Regions from separate parts of the Homo sapiens genome. Here region 2 is linked to region 1. Evidence: promoter capture Hi-C in 16 types of primary human blood cells and fetal thymus (Javierre and others, 2016). All regions are on one chromosome and are shown on one strand. The core of a region is centred on a gene start or on the middle of the fragment in contact, and the rest is flanking DNA. Distances in the headings are between cores, read along the strand shown.

Region 1 (3,870 bases), core at 944-3,443:
CCCATCTCTTGAAAAAAAAAATGGGGAAACCCTGGGGACTATAAAGAGGACAAAGATAGCTCTTAGAGTTCAATGAAGTAAGACCATCCCTCAGTGTCCACAGGGGATTGGTTCCAGGACACTCCCACATACCAAAACCCCAGGATGCTCAAGTCCTTACACACAATGGTATAGTATTTGCATACAAACTATGCACATTGTCCCATATACCTTAAACCATCTCTAGGTTACTTATAATACCTAATACAATGGGAAATGCTATGTAAACAGTTGTTACATCCATATTGTTAAGGAAATAATGACAAGAAAAAAAGAGTCTGTGCGTGTTCAATGCAGACATTACCATTCTTTTTTTTTTTTTTTTTCAATTGTTTTTGTTCCAAAGTTGGTTGACACATATACAGAAGCCATGGATACAGAGGGCTAACTGAATTTCCTTCCAGGCCAGGACTATGTAATACAAATATGATGCAAGCCACCTATGTAATTAAAAATTTTCTAGAAGTCACATAAAAAGTAAAAATAAAGTTGAAATTAATTTTAACATATTTTATTTGATCCATTATATATTATTTCAACATGTAATCGACATAAGAATTACAATATTTTACATTTGTTTTCTAAGTCTTTGAAATCTGGTGTACATTTTGGACTCATTGCATGTCTCAGTTTGGACAAGCCACATTTCAAATGTCAAGAGACGTATTTAACTGGTGGCTACCCCAATGGATAGGGCAGTTCTAGGTAGTCTATTTTCAGTTCCTCTCTTCTCCCTTAAGCCTCTGGAACTGTGATGGGAATAATCTGTCATGTGAATTCCTAGCACTTATCAGCACCTCTCATTATCACTTGGCCTCCTTGCATTATTTATTTTTGTGATGCATTTGTCTTGTCTCATGAACTAACTTGTAAACTCTATGAAGTCCAGGACCAAAGACACATGTAATCTCAAGACTGGAAATATCTTTAACAAAACCATCAACTAATTATTCTGTTGATGTGTGGCTCCCCTGTACCAAGTCCCTATTAAGTGAGCTTCAGAATCTCCTTGAAGCAAAATTCTGTGGTTGAGGTATTCACACATGCTAAGGTAGGCAATTCTTTGGGTCGTGCTACAAGGGCATCTTCTTTTCAGGATCTTAAATCTGTTCCCTGAAGTTTGCATCACATGAAACAAATCAACTTCACATGATAGGTCATTTCATATTTGGAGAGAGTCCAGTAGTTTTCTCTCTTCTAGGTGAGTCCTGGAAGGTTTAATCAATCCTTCTTCACTTGCCCTGTTTTTGAGTTCTCGTCATCATTTTGCTCTTCCCTGATATAATGCCAGCTTGATTAAAGTCTTCAAATGCTGAACACAGCACTTCAGAGGTGGTCTGACCAGTAAAGACAATAACTGGATCACTATTGGCTGCCTCTACAAAACAGTTCTACCAGGCATCGGGGCACATTACCTTGAGGAAGCGGGAATGGCAGAAGAGAGCCACAACAAACATATTAACTCATACTATCTTTGCATTGTTGGCTTTTAGTCTAGAACTCTTTGCAGATAAACCACACAATTCTTTAGGTTAGTTTTTCTTCGTATCTTCCTATCTTTTCAATCGAGTTAGGGAATCTTTGGGCTTTCTGTTTTTGGAGGAGGTCTTCTGACCGAAGAGCCGACTTGCAGAGATCACTTTGAGGGAACTAAGCTGAGAATCCAGAAAGCTTATGGAAAACAGGCCTTGACACCAGAGAACCATGTATACTCTCTAGCAGCCAGAGGGCTTTGGCTGAAAACGACGATAGCAACTACCTGTTTCTTCATTCAAATTGCTCTCCTTTCCTTTACCTTTAATAGGAATTATTTCCTCCACATATTTACCTTACAGAGAAGGGCGGGGAGAAGACGCGGCAGACTGAAGTAAATGCAGGGAAAAAACTCACAGGTAGAGAGGTAGAGACGGCAGGCCTGGCCCGTTGCGGGCAGCCAGGGTAAAGTGGAGCGTCCCGCTCCCGCCCTGGGGCGCATCCTCGCCGCCGCCGGGACCTTCCGCCTCTGCTCCTCCGAACCCAGCGGACTAGAGGCTGGAGGCGGGAGGCGGAGCGGCGCGCGCACGCGGGCGGGGCAGAGGGCCCGGAGTCGACGAGTCGACGTGCCGACGTTGGCGCTGCAGCGGGGCGGTGACGTGTAGGCCGGCGCCAGCTCCACTCTGTCCCTCCTCGCCGGGTCTGTGCGTCTTTGCGTCTGTCTGTCTGACTGATGGTCCTCACACGCGGTTCCCTGTGACTGGGCGCGACCCCGGCAAGCGCGGCTTGGAGGGCGGACGGGGCGCGGCGATACAGCTGCCCGCTCGCATCTTTGGCCCTGCGCTCAGCTCCTCACCCGGCGTGGGAAGTTAAAGTAAAACCGAAAGGGAAGAAGGCGCGGTGGCAGGAGCTGACAGAGTGATGGGAAACGCGTGAGCCAGGCCGAGAGGTGAGGAGGTGGAGGTGGAGGTGGGAGGACGAGAAGGGTCGCCGCGGCCAGGGGAGCTGGCTGGAGGCGGGGACGGCGAGGCGGGCTACGCGACCCGCCAGAGATTCTCTTCCTGCCTCCGGGGCAAGTCCCGACCTGTCATCCTTTTCAGTGGCATGAGGTCGAGTCCGGGGTCTCGCAACAATACCGCCCATTCCTAGAGTTTGTAGGTGGGGTTGGGGATAGAAAACTTAACCTAAGCTACATATTGTCCAAGTGTTAAGCCACAACGTGACCAGATGAGGTTTTTCTGTCCCATGCATGGGTAATTTGTTTTCTTTTTTTCTGTTACAAAGCCTTGATAACTTCGTTTTCTTCACGTAGATTTGGGGAAAGAAATCTTCCTCATATTTTTCCCCCAACACACTGGAAAGTAAATAGGTAGCTGACCGTGATGGATTGTGGGTGAATTTCGCAATCAAGGAGCCTATAATGTCATTTTGAAATAAATAAATGTGTATGTGGGTGCTAGGGAGGTTTTGTGAGTACTGGGCAGTCATTTCAAATAGGTTTCTTATAAATTAACTTACTCATGGAATGCAGTGTGCTAATGGTATTTGCTATTCTTTGGTTTAAAAGAAGCATAATTCTAGGGGCTGGTAAAAGTTTGATGTGTTGTCACTTGTGCATTCAAACTCATGGTTACATTTTCTTTCTTTCCCTAGGTTAGGTGAGATTGACAGCCATTTTCTCCATCACCAGATTTTATGTTTCATAGATTGAAATCCTTTTTCTGATTCTCAAAGTTCTCAAATGTTGAGAATTAAGCTTTTGGTTTTACTATGGATTGTGCTCCAGTTTATGTTGTCTCTTTTTTTTAATGATGGTTATAATAGTCTTGCATGAGAAAAATGATCCTTAAAGATGCTCTTAAGCTTAGGCTAAATAATCCTATTTATATGAGAAATTAATTTTTCATGGTTCAGCTTTCTTGATCCCTGCTTAACAGTTTTTTGTCATTCATTCATTCAAGTCTTCCTATGTGTCAAACGCTGGGCTAGGCCTAGGAGAGCAAGAGAGAGACAGTCTCTGTGCTCATGAACTTTCTATAATCCAGCAGCCTCCTTTTAAGACAGAATCTTGACTAGGGTTCTTTCTCATGCCATGGATCTGTAGTTAACCAAAACAAAGCTTTTAAAAGAAAAAGTTATTGTCAATGTATATATGTAATTGGCATTGAAAGGGGAACAGATGATCTTGCTTTAACAGCATGATTTGATATTGCCTTTGATCAAAAAGTAGTATATGTACCAGTGGTTTGCCATTTCAGAAGAGTAAGTTTTTCTTTTTCAAAGCTTGTTTAAATATAAAGTTCACAGTTCTACCTCAGTTTCTACCTCAAAAAAAATAAATAAATAAAAAGCTTTTTC
Region 2 (3,782 bases), core at 483-2,982, about 22 Mb after region 1:
AATTTACATGTCTTCCTTGATATTTGAAAAAATTATCGCAAAGATTATAATACTCCATTTTTAAGATGGGGCAGGTTTTACAAAACTCGTCTTTGCATCTGCTTTTACATCTGTGCATCTCTTAAAAACCCACAAACCTTAAGTCACTGAGGAATGCTGCATTTTCTTAATCTTTTGGTAATGTTACATTTTTTAAATGAAGCAGCTTAATGTTATCTGGCTAAATTATGGTAATGGCTAATCCTCGTAGGAATATCATTTTGTTTTTTTGTTTTTTTTTTCAGTAAAAATGAGCTATCAATTTTGATTTTGAGTTAATTTAATTTTTGGGGGGAGGGTGGGGGGAGGAATTATTAGTAAAGTGAATTTCTATCCCTAGTCTGCATCGCAGATTTAAGATACAGTAAGCATTCTTTCTATCTATGTATTATGCTCAAAATTCACCTATTTTGAATGGAAGTGGTTTTTCTTGCTTGGAGTTTTCTCCTTACTAGAACAGGAACGTTGGCATACTCATCAGACAGTTTAGAAATCTTATTAGAACTTGGAGTTCTTTGACTCGTTTTCTCTTTTCATTCATTCAGCATATTGCTTACTCTATATCTACTGGATGCAAGGTACCATTTGAGGTGCTTTCTCATCCATCAAACTGTATATCTAGGTGTGTGAGTTAACTTTATTTTACCTTTTTAGTTGAGATTTAGTTAGGTCTAAAAACATTTGGAACACTGGATTTTTTTGTTCAATAGTTGATCTCGCTGTTTAATATCTAAGTCAGCACATGCAAAGTCTCTTGTACAGTATTTTCTATTTTAATTATTCTGACTTAAAAAGTTTTACGTTGTTGTATATCGAGTTGAATTTATTTAACATTGATTTGAAAATTACTTGTTGAGTCATTAGTTTCTACTCTACCTGGAAATGATTTGTTGTATTAACTAATAAACTGAGCAATATTTTAAATGGGAGAACTCATATATCACATCGCATTGAAATTTCTAGGAAACCTCAAATTATTGCTGCTTAAAATGGGGTGTAATATTTGTAGATGTGAATTTAAAAATAGTCACTGATCATCTGTAGTTAGTCTAGTTACAATCGCAATGGTTGAATTTTAATCAAGAGGAAAGTAGAATTTTAAGAGCAGTTTTAAAAGTTTGCAGGTTAAAATTGATGCGTTCATTTCAAGTGTGATTGAGAAAGGAAATGGTCGTATCTTATGGTTGTTTCTGTCTCTGGTATAAAACATGACTGATTATCACCATCTACCTTAAGATTTAAAACATTTTTAACAAAGTAAATGGAATTGGATAGGAAGCTAAAAGTTGTTTTTGGTACTATGGTATACGTTTAATTAGATTTTACATTTTTTAAAATATGAGATTTATTTTAAAGAAAAGGGGCACTTTTTCCAAGTATCAGAATTCTTAAACTGTAGAATAAAAAACTTTTTTTGGACGAAAGGAAAGCTTTGTCATTTGTTTATTTCTTAGTTTGAATAGTGAATCTAGTTAGTTTATTAAGTCTGCTTTCTAGTTGTCACTTAATGATGATTGCATATTTACGAGATCTAGAGGCAGAATTTTCAAGCATTTTACCGAATTTGGCACTCTCTTGATTACATTTTTTCTTGTAAGACTTCTCTTTTTTCCCCCCAAGAACTAGTTCATGTTTTGCCAATCTGTTAAAATGATTTAATTTTTTCCTTGTAAAATAGTGATACTTGCCTTTCTTAAAATTATTCCACTTTATTAGAAATCTTTTTTGTTTGTTTGCTTGTTTGTTTTAAGTGAAAGGATTGGGAGTCAGGAGATGTGGATTGTGGTTTTAAGCCCCGCTGACAGTTAAACTGTAGGTAATCTTGGGCAAGTCATGGAATTTCTCTTTGTCCCAGTTATCTCATTTGAAAAATAAGTGGATTGAAATTTTTTCAATCTGAAAATCTGTGATTTTGAACTAGAAATAGCAGTACATTGTATTTAAGAACTAAGCTTTATTTCATTCTTAGAGCTTAGTTTTCCAAAACACAGAAAAGTAGAAATCACATAGGTTACAAAATTATATAAATGCTTTTCATAGTGCCATTCTTTGGTGGTAATATCATTTCTTGTTGCAAAGATGATTTGAGACACTAACTACGTTGTAAAATGCCCCAAAATTACCATGATTTCCATCATAGTTTAAGTACTAGTTTTCATTATTGTTGGTCTCAAATTCAGAGATGAATAGGAATGATGGATAGGATTTATTTAAGTATATATCTTAGGTATACATTTATTTAGTGTGTGCTGATTAATGTGAAAGTTAAGGTATAAAACCTAGAGACAACTTTCAGGGAAAAAAAAAAGATATCATATTAAATGTTTTAGAAGTAGGGATTCCCATTCTATATTGAAGATAACATAGTTTCAACACTTGATTATTATAATTTTTTGGGGTTGGGTGAACATGTAATAAAGTAAATGTGTGTAGTTGTAGTAGAGTTACTATTTCCTTTTTTAGTAGAGTATCAATGAAATAGAAGCTTTGCGTGGTAGTCTCTAAAACAGCTTTAATCTCATATGGTCGTTATAATGATGAATAAAATATGTTAGGCGTGAAGGGTTATATGATGAATAAAATGTTAGGTGTGAATATGTTGCTGAGAGGCTGAAGGAGCATTCTTCATTCTTTCTTACATATAGAATTATTCTATTGATGCTTATACCATTTTTTAAAATTTGAGGCATTTACAAACTTTTTAAATGCAATACTTACTATATTGTTAATATTCTTAAATAGTTGTAAAGCGGCATGAGCATAAAGCGGGAGCTGGAATGTCCCTTTCCCAAACCATAATGGTTTTTATTTGATTGTTGTGAGGCAGAATCGTATTGAGGGAGTCTGTTTTCCATTCTGTAAAATGGGCTAATAATAGCTTCTACTTTGTGTGGTCTGTGAGTAATAACTGGCATGAATCAAGTACTATGTAAGGGTTTTGGTTTGCTATTATCAGAACTTTAGTAGTGGTAGTAAAGGTTGTTCTGCTTAGAGCTTTATAATAAAGTTTTCTTTAAGAAAAGCATTTACATTTTTATTCCAGGCACAAGTATGTATATACTTTCTGAACATAGAATCTGCAGTATAAAAAGGCCACATTAAAACTTCAGAAGAGTCCAGGTGTGGTGGCTCATGCCTGTAATCCCAGTACTTTGGGAGGCCATGAGTTGGAGACCAGCCTGGACAAAATGGAAAACCCCATCTCTACAAAAACTAAAAAAAAAAATTAGCCAGGTGTAGTGGCGCATGCCTGTAGTCCCAATTACCCCGAAGGCTGAGGTGAGAGGATCGCCTGAGCCCAGGGAGGTTGAAGCTGCAATAAGCTGTGCCCCATGCCACTGCCCTCCAGCGTGGGTGACACAGTGATACCCTGTCTCAAGAAAAGAAAAAAAAAATCTTCGGAAGATACTATAATTACTTTATAGACTCAAGGATGAAACAGGTCTAAAAAATAAAGGAAAAATGTTTAATACCAAAAATAAATCATGGTTAAGGCATTGTGGATAGACCTCTGGAAAAATTGTGCTACTGATTTCTACTGTGACTTGTTTTTATGGAACACTGAACATTAAGAAATAATTTGGGTGGTTGACATATCCTGAATGGATTAGAGAATATGCAAAGCTTTTTTTCTTTGGGTAATCATCAAATGACATTTAGGAATATATGAAGAGAATTTGGCTATGGCGTCTGCCTCCTTCTATACAGTTATTTGTGAGATTTACAACCATCACAATAGTTTG

What was found. The method cuts DNA at HindIII sites, captures the fragments that hold promoters and counts their contacts. A CHiCAGO score of 5 or more calls a contact.
Region 2: a contact is called between a fragment that was not itself captured here and the fragment with the promoter of ASCC3 in region 1, in 1 of 17 cell types (activated CD4 T cells). The highest score is 10.2, in activated CD4 T cells.

What each region holds. Positions count from the first base shown.
Region 1 is chr6:100,879,652-100,883,521 of GRCh38, reverse strand. ASCC3 (activating signal cointegrator 1 complex subunit 3) reads left to right here and starts at 2,193. Exons shown (of 42, transcript NM_006828.4): 1 at 2,193-2,461. It overlaps LOC107984041 (a long non-coding RNA gene), which reads right to left and starts at 2,065. Exons shown (of 8, transcript XR_007059692.1): 1 at 1,868-2,065. RefSeq lists an enhancer at 2,230-2,349. The HindIII fragment of the contact is 1,558 bases long and covers 1,713-3,270 here.
Region 2 is chr6:79,072,134-79,075,915 of GRCh38, reverse strand. All of the region lies in intron 4 of PHIP (PHIP subunit of CUL4-Ring ligase complex), which reads left to right. LOC124901346 (a long non-coding RNA gene) reads right to left here. Exons shown (of 2, transcript XR_007059652.1): 2 at 1-3,782. Among named protein-coding and RNA genes, the nearest start is that of PHIP, 4.2 kb to the left of the region's middle. The HindIII fragment of the contact is 522 bases long and covers 1,472-1,993 here.